Linked DNA regions of Homo sapiens: all the other regions are linked to region 2. Evidence: promoter capture Hi-C in 16 types of primary human blood cells and fetal thymus (Javierre and others, 2016). All regions are on one chromosome and are shown on one strand. Each heading gives the region's core, a stretch centred on a gene start or on the middle of the fragment in contact. The rest is flanking DNA. Distances are from core to core; before and after follow the strand shown.

Region 1 (3,257 bases), core at 363-2,862, 1.1 Mb after region 2:
TGAAGAGCTGGGGACAAGCGGTTTTCAACCCATCACCTTTCCCTCTGTCCATGTTTATAGGACTTGGCCACGCCCCCTATGCAGCTGTTAGCCTAATGAGTGATGGCCCTCAAGGATCCAATCGGAGAAATGTGCAGGAGAGATTAGCTGTGGGTGGCATATTTTAAAGCAGTGTTTACTGCAAGCTGTTTTTGAGCTGCTGTTTGTCAAAAAGCCAAAAAATCATTTTAAAAAATATTTCTAAAGCCTTTAAAGTTTATAAAATGCATTTGCATACATTATTTTTTTGTGTTCAGAATGGCTTCATTCTGAGATAGCTCATTTTACAAATGAAAAGCTGCATTTGAGAGAAGACTGAGATGACTTGGACCTAGGTCCCCTGGCAGAACTCCACACAGCACCACATTCATGCTCATGGACACTCCCAAATAACATTTGCCCTCCCTGTGCCCTGTGGATGTCAAAGTGTGCTTTGGAGGACATCTCTGTCCTTCCAGTGTCTGCAAAGGGCTCCAGAGTCATGTGCTGCAACCATTCCTCCTTCATCTCCCCACCCACCGTAAAATGAGAGGACAGATAAGGCAGTAGGGTGTGGTGGTTTAGAGTGTTAGCTCTGGCATCTGGGTTTAAATTTCATCTCCATGAATTATGAGGAATGTGATCTTGGATACTTTATAATACTTCTCTACACCTCCATTTCTTCATCTGTAACATGAAGGTTATTACTACCCTCATCAGATTGCTGGGAGTATCACTTGAGATACCCTGTTGATGAGCACTCCTCAGTACATAATAGAAGCTCAATAAATGCTAGTTGTTAGGTCCTTTCCAGCTCAGATATTCTATGATTCTATGGTTGTTTAATAATGGGTAGCATTTTTTGAGTACTTAATACATTCCAGGCACTTCTAAGCAATATGTATATGAAAGATTTTATGTATATGTATACATATAATTTCACATATACATATAAAATCTCATCCTAACCTCATAACCGTACTCTAAAGCTTGCACTGTTTTCACAATGATACAATGCCCATTTACAGACGAGGAAATGGTTATCGGAGAGATTAAACAACTTTACTTTGATCATGTAATTAAAAAGAAGCAGAACCAGAATTCTAGCTTGAGAGCTGGCCTTAACTACTTTGCTTTTCCTCCTATCTAAGAAAGTAGAATTAAGTCTTTTCATAGTTCTGCTTGTTTTTCTTGTCATTGCCCCCAAACAAAAAAGAAAGCCTTTCTGATTTAGCTGTTTGATCTCATTCAGGAGAATCTCCCCACAGTCACTGCCTGACCCATTTATTATAACATTATTTTGGATTTGGTGAATACAGTATACCAAGAGGTCAGTCCTATTTCCCTCTGACTATAGTATAGCCTAGGAAGCTTATGAAGAAAGTGCCCATAACAGAAATACAGCATATCTGCAAAATTTTCCATTTCCAATTTTGCAATTGTTCAATTGCAAAAAAGCTTCTAGATCATCCCAGCCTTGGAAGTCCAAACCAGATACACCAAGCAGTACTTACTGGAAGCCAAGAGGTCGCTGGTCCAGTGCTCAGGAAAGTGCCTTGTCCCGAGGATTCCTGAACTCACTCCTGCTGACTCTGAGCCTTGGTGCCTGGGTGAGGATTAAGCACAAACTCTGCTTGAAATCTGAACCACCAGGAAGTTCCCAAACTAATATCCTTGAGCAGATTTTATTCTTGCCCCAAACTGAAATGGAAGCTATGCCCTCAGGGGAAGTTCTGGGCCTTCATACTTGTGGCTTGCCACAGAACTCTCCTTGGTGTCCCAGCTGCCTAGCACCAAAAATGAAAGCAAACACATTAATAATAAAAAAAAATTCCTGCCAGACTTTGGACCATGGTCACAATAACCCTTATTGAGAACAACGCCAATTTACCCTCAACCGTCTGTGGTGACTACCATTGAAAAAAAATCCCTATGCCTCCCTCAGCCATATCTTAACCAATGTCTTCCTGGGAAGGGTAGAAAGGGTTCCTTTGTACCAGATGAGGAAACAAAAGCCTGGCTTCTCTAAACACTTGTACATGCCAATGGTTTCCAGGAAGAGTTGCTCATTCAGCCATGACAGAGTGTTACCATCAACAGGGTGGCGCTAGGCATGTTCCCCTGCACAGCCACCAACAGCAATTGAGCAAACCATCATTCTTAGACCTGGTGAGTGGTATCCAGCCACCAAAGGGTCTTAGGTATATTTTCATGTGTATTACAGATTTCTAGGGGAGAGGAAGAAGTGATGATGAATTTTATCCTGTTCTACTGCCTTTAGAAGTAAAAGTACATCATTTGAATCCTCATCCTCACGAGGGTAGCTGGTCTGGAATCAGCTCTGCCATGGATCCATTGTGTGGTCTTGGCAAGTTAACTGGAGTTCTCTGAGTCTGTTTCCTCATCTGCAAAATGGAACAGATAATACTGACTTCACAGGATTTTTTTTTAAAGTTAAGTAAAATTTCACATATAAAAAGCATCTAGCACAGTGCTTTATCCACAGTTAGCATTCAACAGAGGGTATTTCTTTGTTTTTCTCTTTTGCATCCTATGGAGGGTAGATGTTATTGGTTTCTTCATTTAGCAAACCTAGCTGGACTTCAGGCATACAGAAATTATTGATATATTGTTTGCTTCCTGCACAGGACCAGTTTTGCTTGATTTAGGAAAAACAATTTCTTAATTTTGATATAGTTTGGATGTCCCCTCCAAATCTCATGTTGAGATGTAATCCCCAGTGATGGAGGTGGAGTCTGGCTGGAGGTGTTGGGTCCTGGGGGTGGATCCCTCATGGCTTGGTTCTGTGTCTGAGATAGTGAGTTGTACTGAGGTCTTTATTTAAAAGTGTGTGGCATCTCCCCCAACTCTACTGCTCCCACTCCCACCAGGTGACATGGCTACTCCCGCCTCACCTTCCACCATGCGTAAAAGAAAGCCCCCTGAGGTCTTCTCAGAAGCTGAGAGATGCCAGGACTATGCTTCCTGTACAGCTTGCAGAACCATGGGCCAATTAAACCTCTTTTCTTTATAAATTATCAAATCTCAGGTATTTCTTTATAACAAGACAGAGATAGACCTAACAGAATTTCCTGGATGTTCTTTTGGGCTAACTTTTGATAATTCTGGAGATAGTCTTAATGTCTTTACATTAGAATTTTAATCAGATACCAGTTGTAGCTCTAAGTAGTTCATAAAAAGCTTGTGCTGATTTCCACTTACTTGGGAACTATAAAGTC
Region 2 (3,298 bases), core at 23-2,522:
TGCACAGAATGCATTTTTCAATTTGGGCAGTTCTCCCAGAATAAAGTAAACAAGTGAAGCAACTAGCATTCTTACTAGAACAGTGACAAGGCATTTTCTTTTTAGTTTCTTTTCACTTATTAGTCTACTAGGATACTTGAATACTGTCTCTATGCTGGTGTCTAAAACCCTCAAAGGAGAGTACAATTGCAGGATAAACGAAGAGTGTCCAGGAAGAGAACTAGACAAGAAAGGAAACAGATGGTCTCTGGGCTCGGTGAGCTTGGAAGCTGTCGAAAGCAAACTCGACTGGACCCTCCAAACTCCTATTTCAGATCAATACATAAGGTTCAGCTGAGTTCGGCCTCCAGGCCCAAGAAAGCAAAAGCCAGCAACCCGGGGGCTGGTCGGCGGCTCCCTCGCCAGGGACGCCCCACAGCGAGACCATGCCTCTCCCACCTCTACCCCCGAAAACCAAAACAAAACAGAACCAAGCCCAAGCGGTGCTTGCTCGTTTCTTTTGTCTTGCTCAACGCTGACCACTTTTTTTCCGGAGAAGGTTAACGTTAAGGGAGCCCGGGGGAGCTCTCTGCGACCCCGCCAGGTGCTCCCCGAACCCCCGGCCCCATCAGAGGAATGAGGCGACCACCGAGCGGCGTTGGGCGGCCAGGTCCTCCCCGGCACCCCCGCCCCGGCTCCTGGAGGAGGGCAGGGACTGCCGGCCTGGGGCAGCCAGGGACCGACGGGACCCCCGCAGAGCCAGGCCCGAGGCCCCGGGCGCCCCCACGACCCGGCGGCCGCCCAGGGCGCCCGCCTGGGGCCTCACCCCAACCGGGGACAGGGCCGCCGAGGGCCGGGCCAAGGCCGCCCGGCTTGTCCCCGAGGCCGCCGGGGAGCGTAGGCCGCCGCCATCCCCGGCCTGCCGTGCGCCCGCAGCCCGCGGCCTTACCGCCTCCACGGCGTGCTGCAGGATGGAGGTGAACTTGGAGAACATCCTGTCCCGGGACTGCAGCAGCCTCTCCCGGGACGACCTGGAGAGCTCCTCGATCCGCCGCCGCCGCCCCTGCTGCGGCTGCCGGGGCCGCTCCAGAGTGAAGGCCGGTGCGGGGCGGGGAGGACGAGCTGAGGATCGAGGCAGGGCCTGGCCCGGCCGCTTCAGGTGTGCGCGGGCGGCTCGGCGGCTCCGGAGGGCGCCGGGACGCGGCGGGCGGCGAGGAGGGCGTTCGGCGAGGACTCGGGGCCCGGAGAAGCTCCGGCGGCGGCACCGGTTGGGACACGGTGGCAGCCCGGCTCGGGTTCCTTCCCCCCGCTCTGCCCGCCGCGGCCTGCAGGGGGCGCCGCCGCAGCCCGGGGAGGCCCGGCCAGGCCTGCCCTGCGGCGGGGCCGCTAGGCGCCGCGGGGGCGGGGGGCGCGCTGAGGCCTCGGCCTCGCGCGGGGCTGGAGGCGGCCTGTGGGCAGCCACCGCCCTCTCCCGGCTTTCTCAGGGCGCCTGGGACACCGGCTTTCTAACATTTTTACAGCTCAGCGATTCTCAAGAGTTTTGTTTCTCCAGTGGAAGTAACAGGCTGACTTTGTAGGGACACGCAGCCGTCCATATATGCGTATAGCATTCAGAGGTTCTTCCTGTAAGGACCGATTTGGAAGACTCGTTAAGAAAACAGTGTTCTTTAAGCAAACATTGGCAATGGATTTAAATGCTCAGATTTTGAAGAAATCAACGACTGCAGGTGAAATGGCTTTGCTAACTTTAAAATATATTATTATTCAACATTGAAACAGGAAATCCCACATGAGCACATGGTAAGACGGCTGGCTTAGTTTAAATAGCCCATTATAATATTTATATATAATATATAACATAATTTATTTGTGATATGGTTGATAGTGAGGTGTAGTGATTCAGAACAGCATTTTCTATTCAGTTATCAGATGATACCGGAAAACATTAGCGAGGGAAAGAATCTGAAAGGAGTCCAGTAAATGCCTAAGGCAGATAAATAGAGCTACAAGGTAAGCACTTGGGTGGAGGCTGCTTAAAATACTCCCTAACAGTGTATTAGTCAAGCCTTGAAGAAGCAGTTCAGGCTGGTAAAGTTTAGGTTGAGTTAATACAAATTATGAAAATATTTGTATCCTGAAGAAATTTGTTTTATGCTGGTATTGGCGTTTTACCAAAAGGTTCATTAAGTTCTTAAGATGAGGTGGGGAGTGAGTTTTGCACAACCAGTGCTGAAAATACGTATCTGGCCCAGGCGCGGTGGCTCACGCCTGTAATCTCAGCACTCTGGGAGGCAAAGGCGGGAGGATCACTTGAGGCCAGGAGTTCGAGACCAGCCTGGCCAACATGGTGAAACTCCGTCTCTATTAAAAATACAAAAAAAAAAAAAAAAAAAAAATTAGCCGAACGTGGTGGTGTAATGGGATTACATGCTTGTAATCCCAGCTACTTGGGAGGCTGAGGCAGGAGAATCCTTGAACTCGGGAGGCGGAAGTTGCAGTGAGCCAAGGTTGCGCCATTGCGCTCCAGCCTGGACAACAAGAGCAAAACTCCATCTCAAAAAAAAAAAAAAAAATACACACACACACACACACACACACACACACACACACACATACATGTATACACACACATACGTTTATACATACACAAACGTATATATACACATACGTATATATACATGTATACACACACACACGTATATATATCTGTAATTGATTCATGGAACAGAGAAAAGGTGGCTGTCATATGGAGTGGTGGTAACTGGCCAGGCTCTGGGGCTGGGTAGCCTAAGTCCCAGCTCTGCCACCCACAGTGGAAAGTTATTTAACTTCTTTGTGTTTTAATTTGCTTATATGTCAAAAGGGGAGAACAGTACCTACCTCTTGAGGTTGTTGTGGGAATTAATTAATATATGTAAAACACTTTAACAGTGCCCAGTCCCTAGTAAGAGATGCACAGACACTTATACTTGTTCTGAGTTGTGGTAGTGGTATTTAGCAAAATAATAGGGCCAGAAATCAGGAATTAAGGAGGAGATCTTAACTGGGCTTCTTTTCCCTCCTGTTTTTGTGGTTTATATCCCTGCGGTGCTCCTTGGCAGATAAATACGACCTTAATTTTCTACGTACTACCCCCAGAATGCTGGAGGCATCCTCTGTTGTTTTGTGCCCCTTACCAAATTCTGGCCGTGTCTGCTTCAACTGAGAGCATGTATGTATGCTTATTGTTATTATATTCATACACAGTTTAAGATGGTTAGTCATATTATTAACCATAATTAGTTTCATGATCTAATTATCATGCATTTATATGGCATTT
Region 3 (3,249 bases), core at 199-2,698, 1.2 Mb after region 2:
AAACCTGAGACTCCGCCTTCCCCTTATACTCATGTGGACTTGAATGCTACTCTTCTTCATTGGCTTTAGAGCTTCTTCCTACCCCCTGGCTATCTCAGCACAACCCCAAAATACTACTCATCTTACTCCACCCTACCTGGGGACACCAACCTAACCTCAGAACATTTAGGGCCAAGGTCACAAATTGGTAACCTGCTGGCCAAATACTGCCCACGACTCTGTTATATTGTTTTATATACAAAAAGGGGAATTTCATTTGTAAATGCAGACTTCTGGTGTGCTCAGAATATTTGGAAAATATTCCGGAAAAATCAGGATATTTGGCAACCTGGAATGTTGATTGTTTCATGATGACAGTTGGCTGGGACTGAGGAGCAGTTGCCTGCTTCAGATGGGATGAGTGCTCATCTATTTGGAAAAGTTCCTACCATTATCTAGACTTCATACCTGGCCTCTATAGGCATTTTGGTGTGAGTATTAAATTTATTTCATTAATCCAATAAATCTTTATTAAGCACCTTTTATTGGCAGACCTTGTTCTAGGCATGGGGGATATAGAAGTGGCAAAAAGGACCAAAGATCCTGTTTAGACAGAACTCATATTTTGATGGGAGAGACACAATTTTTAAAAATAGAAACATTAACATGTAATATGTCCAGCTGTGATTACCACTATGAAGACCATCAAGCAGGCTAAGAGTAATGGAAGATAATGAGATAGGAGTGGGGACAGGTGAGGTGCCATTTTGTATCAGGTATTTCTATAAGGTGATAAGGTGACATTTCAGCAGAGACTGAAGGCAATGAGAGGCTTCCCAAAGCCAGGAAGAGAGATTCTGTCTTCATATCACCTCTTTTAAGGCCTGTGAGGCAAGGGAACAAGCACAAAGGCCTTCTTGGAACATTCTAGAATAAAATACAGAGGCCAAAACACCAAGAGTTCTCATTAGTTTTTAGTTTTGCGTTCCAGTAGAAGCTAAACACAAACTAACACCTTATTAAGTTTTTAGTTTAACTGTTGTAAACGCTTTGGGTAGGTAAAGTTAAAATTCAAGTGTGATATTTATCCATTTAAAGGAGTGAATCAATCCTATTTTATTTTCTATATTTTTGGGAGCTGGCCTTTCTGCTTTAGTCATAGGACGCATAGAGCAAGCTTTTCTAATTTGATTGTTGGATGACGGTGTGGCATCTTCCTTTAGGTTCTTTTCTTGGGTCATGATCACAGCTAGTGCTAAACCACTCCATGCTGCCTGATCATACACCAGGGTTTGGTTATCCACATAAACATGATGCTGTTGTGAGTTCATTTTTCTATTTAGAGAAGCATGTCAGCTAGAAATACTTCCACCTTATTTCCCAGACACATGCGTGCTGAGTGAGTGGCCAAAATAGCCCCTTGAGTAAGTGGCAGCTTTAAAAACCATCCAACTGCTGACTTCAAACTAGAAGGTCAGCAAAGGAAAGTGGAAGTTGGATTCTGAAAGATCGAGGTGCCCACAGGAATTTTATGGTCGTCGGATTTTGAAGACTTGAACTAGACTGGGGGTTCTCCTTGCATTTCTTGCCTGTTGCCTATCTTTGTCCTCTCTCTTCCGGCTTCGAGATGAATGTGCAGCCCTGTTCTAGGTGTGGGTATGGGGTTTATCCTGCCGAGAAGATCAGCTGTATAGATCAGGTCAGTAGACATTTCTTGGCTTTTGTGAATAATAACAAACACAGGAAATTGACCTTCTCACATATGGACATAGGTAAATATGGAAATTTAATTTTCAGTTAAATTGTTTTGAACCACAAGAAAAAGTTATATTTTCTCACCTTTATTTAGTTCTACACATTTCTATTTCTTCTGTGTTGTCTCAAAAAAAAAAAGTTATCCATTTATTTAACCGTGAGTGTTGTTATAGCTGTGTGTGTGGATTTTAATTTTTTTAAAATCAGCATTTTATCCTCGAAGTTCATTTTTTTACCCTAAAATATATAAGAACCTTGAGTCTGGGGGGAAAAGGGTAATTGCTAAATCTTCTCTATATGATTTCTAGATATGGCATAAAGCCTGTTTTCACTGTGAAGTTTGCAAGATGATGCTGTCTGTTAATAACTTTGTGAGTCACCAGAAAAAGCCGTACTGTCACGCGTAAGTGTTTGATGCCCCCACCACTACCTCTTGAGTTTTATTTGTTTTTCAACAAGGAGCCAACTAAACGTTCAAATCATATAACCCAGGGTTAAATCCAAGAAATATCTTCTCCCAAAGTGTTCCCTTGTATCCTGTCATTAAAGAGACCTAAGGTGGGATTTTATGCAATGGACACAAAACTTCAAATTTCTTCCAAGTAAAAGATCAAATATATCCACTATAACCTCATGTCAAATTATTAAATACTGTGCAGAACAATGTAATGGCCATAAATATGCATATAGAGCTTTGAAGTATTTTCTTTTAAATAATTTCAGAATCCTTTTTTACTTTCTTCAGAAAGTTTTCAAGTGATCATTTCCAGTTAAATTTAGGCTTTCAGTTATATATGTCGATTTTATTTGATTTGCTTTTTTTTCTGTAAGATGCATTGCCTGGAAAATCACGAACTTAATTTTTAAGTTTTACATTTATTGATTTTTTAAAAATAACTGTTATTATTTAAAAATAATTTTAAGAATAGTCCCTCAATCATTTGGATAAAGTACATTTCTAATTTTGATTTATACCTATTTGTTGTAGCCATAACCCTAAGAACAACACTTTCACCAGTGTCTATCACACTCCATTAAATCTAAATGTGAGGACATTTCCAGAGGCCATCAGTGGGGTAAGTTATTTAATTTTCAGTGGGATGGAGGGTATGGAGAATGATTGGTTACTGGGTAGAAACATGCAAATAGATAAAAGGAATATATTCTAGCCAGGCACAGTGGCTCACACCTACAATTCCAACACTTTGGGAGGCCAAAGCGGGCAGATGGTTTGAGCTTGGGAGTTAGAGACTAGCCTGGGCAACATAGTGAGACCCTGTCTTTATTTCTTAAAAAGTTAAATAAATAAAAGAAGGAACATGTTGTAATGTCCTATAGCAGACAGAGTAGGATGACCACAATTAACAACAATGTATCATATATTTCAAAATAGCTAGAATAGAAATGATAAATACTCGAGCCGATAAACACCCTAAATGCCCTGACTTGATCATTACACATTCTAATATGTAACAAAATATTATATGTACTCCATAAATATGTGCAAATATTATA

The links. Contacts are between HindIII fragments. The CHiCAGO score rates a contact against its expected background, and 5 or more counts as called.
Region 1: a contact is called between the fragment with the promoter of PLEKHS1 here and the fragment with the promoter of FHIP2A in region 2, in 5 of 17 cell types (total B cells, M0 macrophages, non-activated CD4 T cells and 2 more). The highest score is 12.8, in total B cells.
Region 3: a contact is called between the fragment with the promoter of NRAP here and the fragment with the promoter of FHIP2A in region 2, in 1 of 17 cell types (non-activated CD4 T cells). The highest score is 6.4, in non-activated CD4 T cells.

The regions. Positions count from the first base shown.
Region 1 is chr10:113,750,037-113,753,293 of GRCh38, reverse strand. It overlaps PLEKHS1 (pleckstrin homology domain containing S1), which reads right to left and starts at 1,612. Exons shown (of 13, transcript NM_001395068.1): 1 at 1,533-1,612. The HindIII fragment of the contact is 1,743 bases long and covers 1,479-3,221 here.
Region 2 is chr10:114,819,754-114,823,051 of GRCh38, reverse strand. It overlaps FHIP2A (FHF complex subunit HOOK interacting protein 2A), which reads right to left and starts at 1,272. Exons shown (of 17, transcript NM_020940.4): 1 at 929-1,272. The coding sequence starts at 973. LOC124902508 (translation initiation factor IF-2-like) reads left to right here and starts at 104. Exons shown (of 2, transcript XM_047426127.1): 1 at 104-1,779. The coding sequence starts at 951. The coding sequence ends at 1,556. RefSeq lists silencers at 574-793, 854-1,203, 1,214-1,523 and an enhancer at 368-868. The HindIII fragment of the contact is 9,749 bases long and covers 1-3,298 here.
Region 3 is chr10:113,662,240-113,665,488 of GRCh38, reverse strand. NRAP (nebulin related anchoring protein) reads left to right here and starts at 1,448. Exons shown (of 42, transcript NM_198060.4): 1 at 1,448-1,678; 2 at 2,043-2,137; 3 at 2,723-2,810. The coding sequence starts at 1,607. The HindIII fragment of the contact is 5,999 bases long and covers 1,159-3,249 here.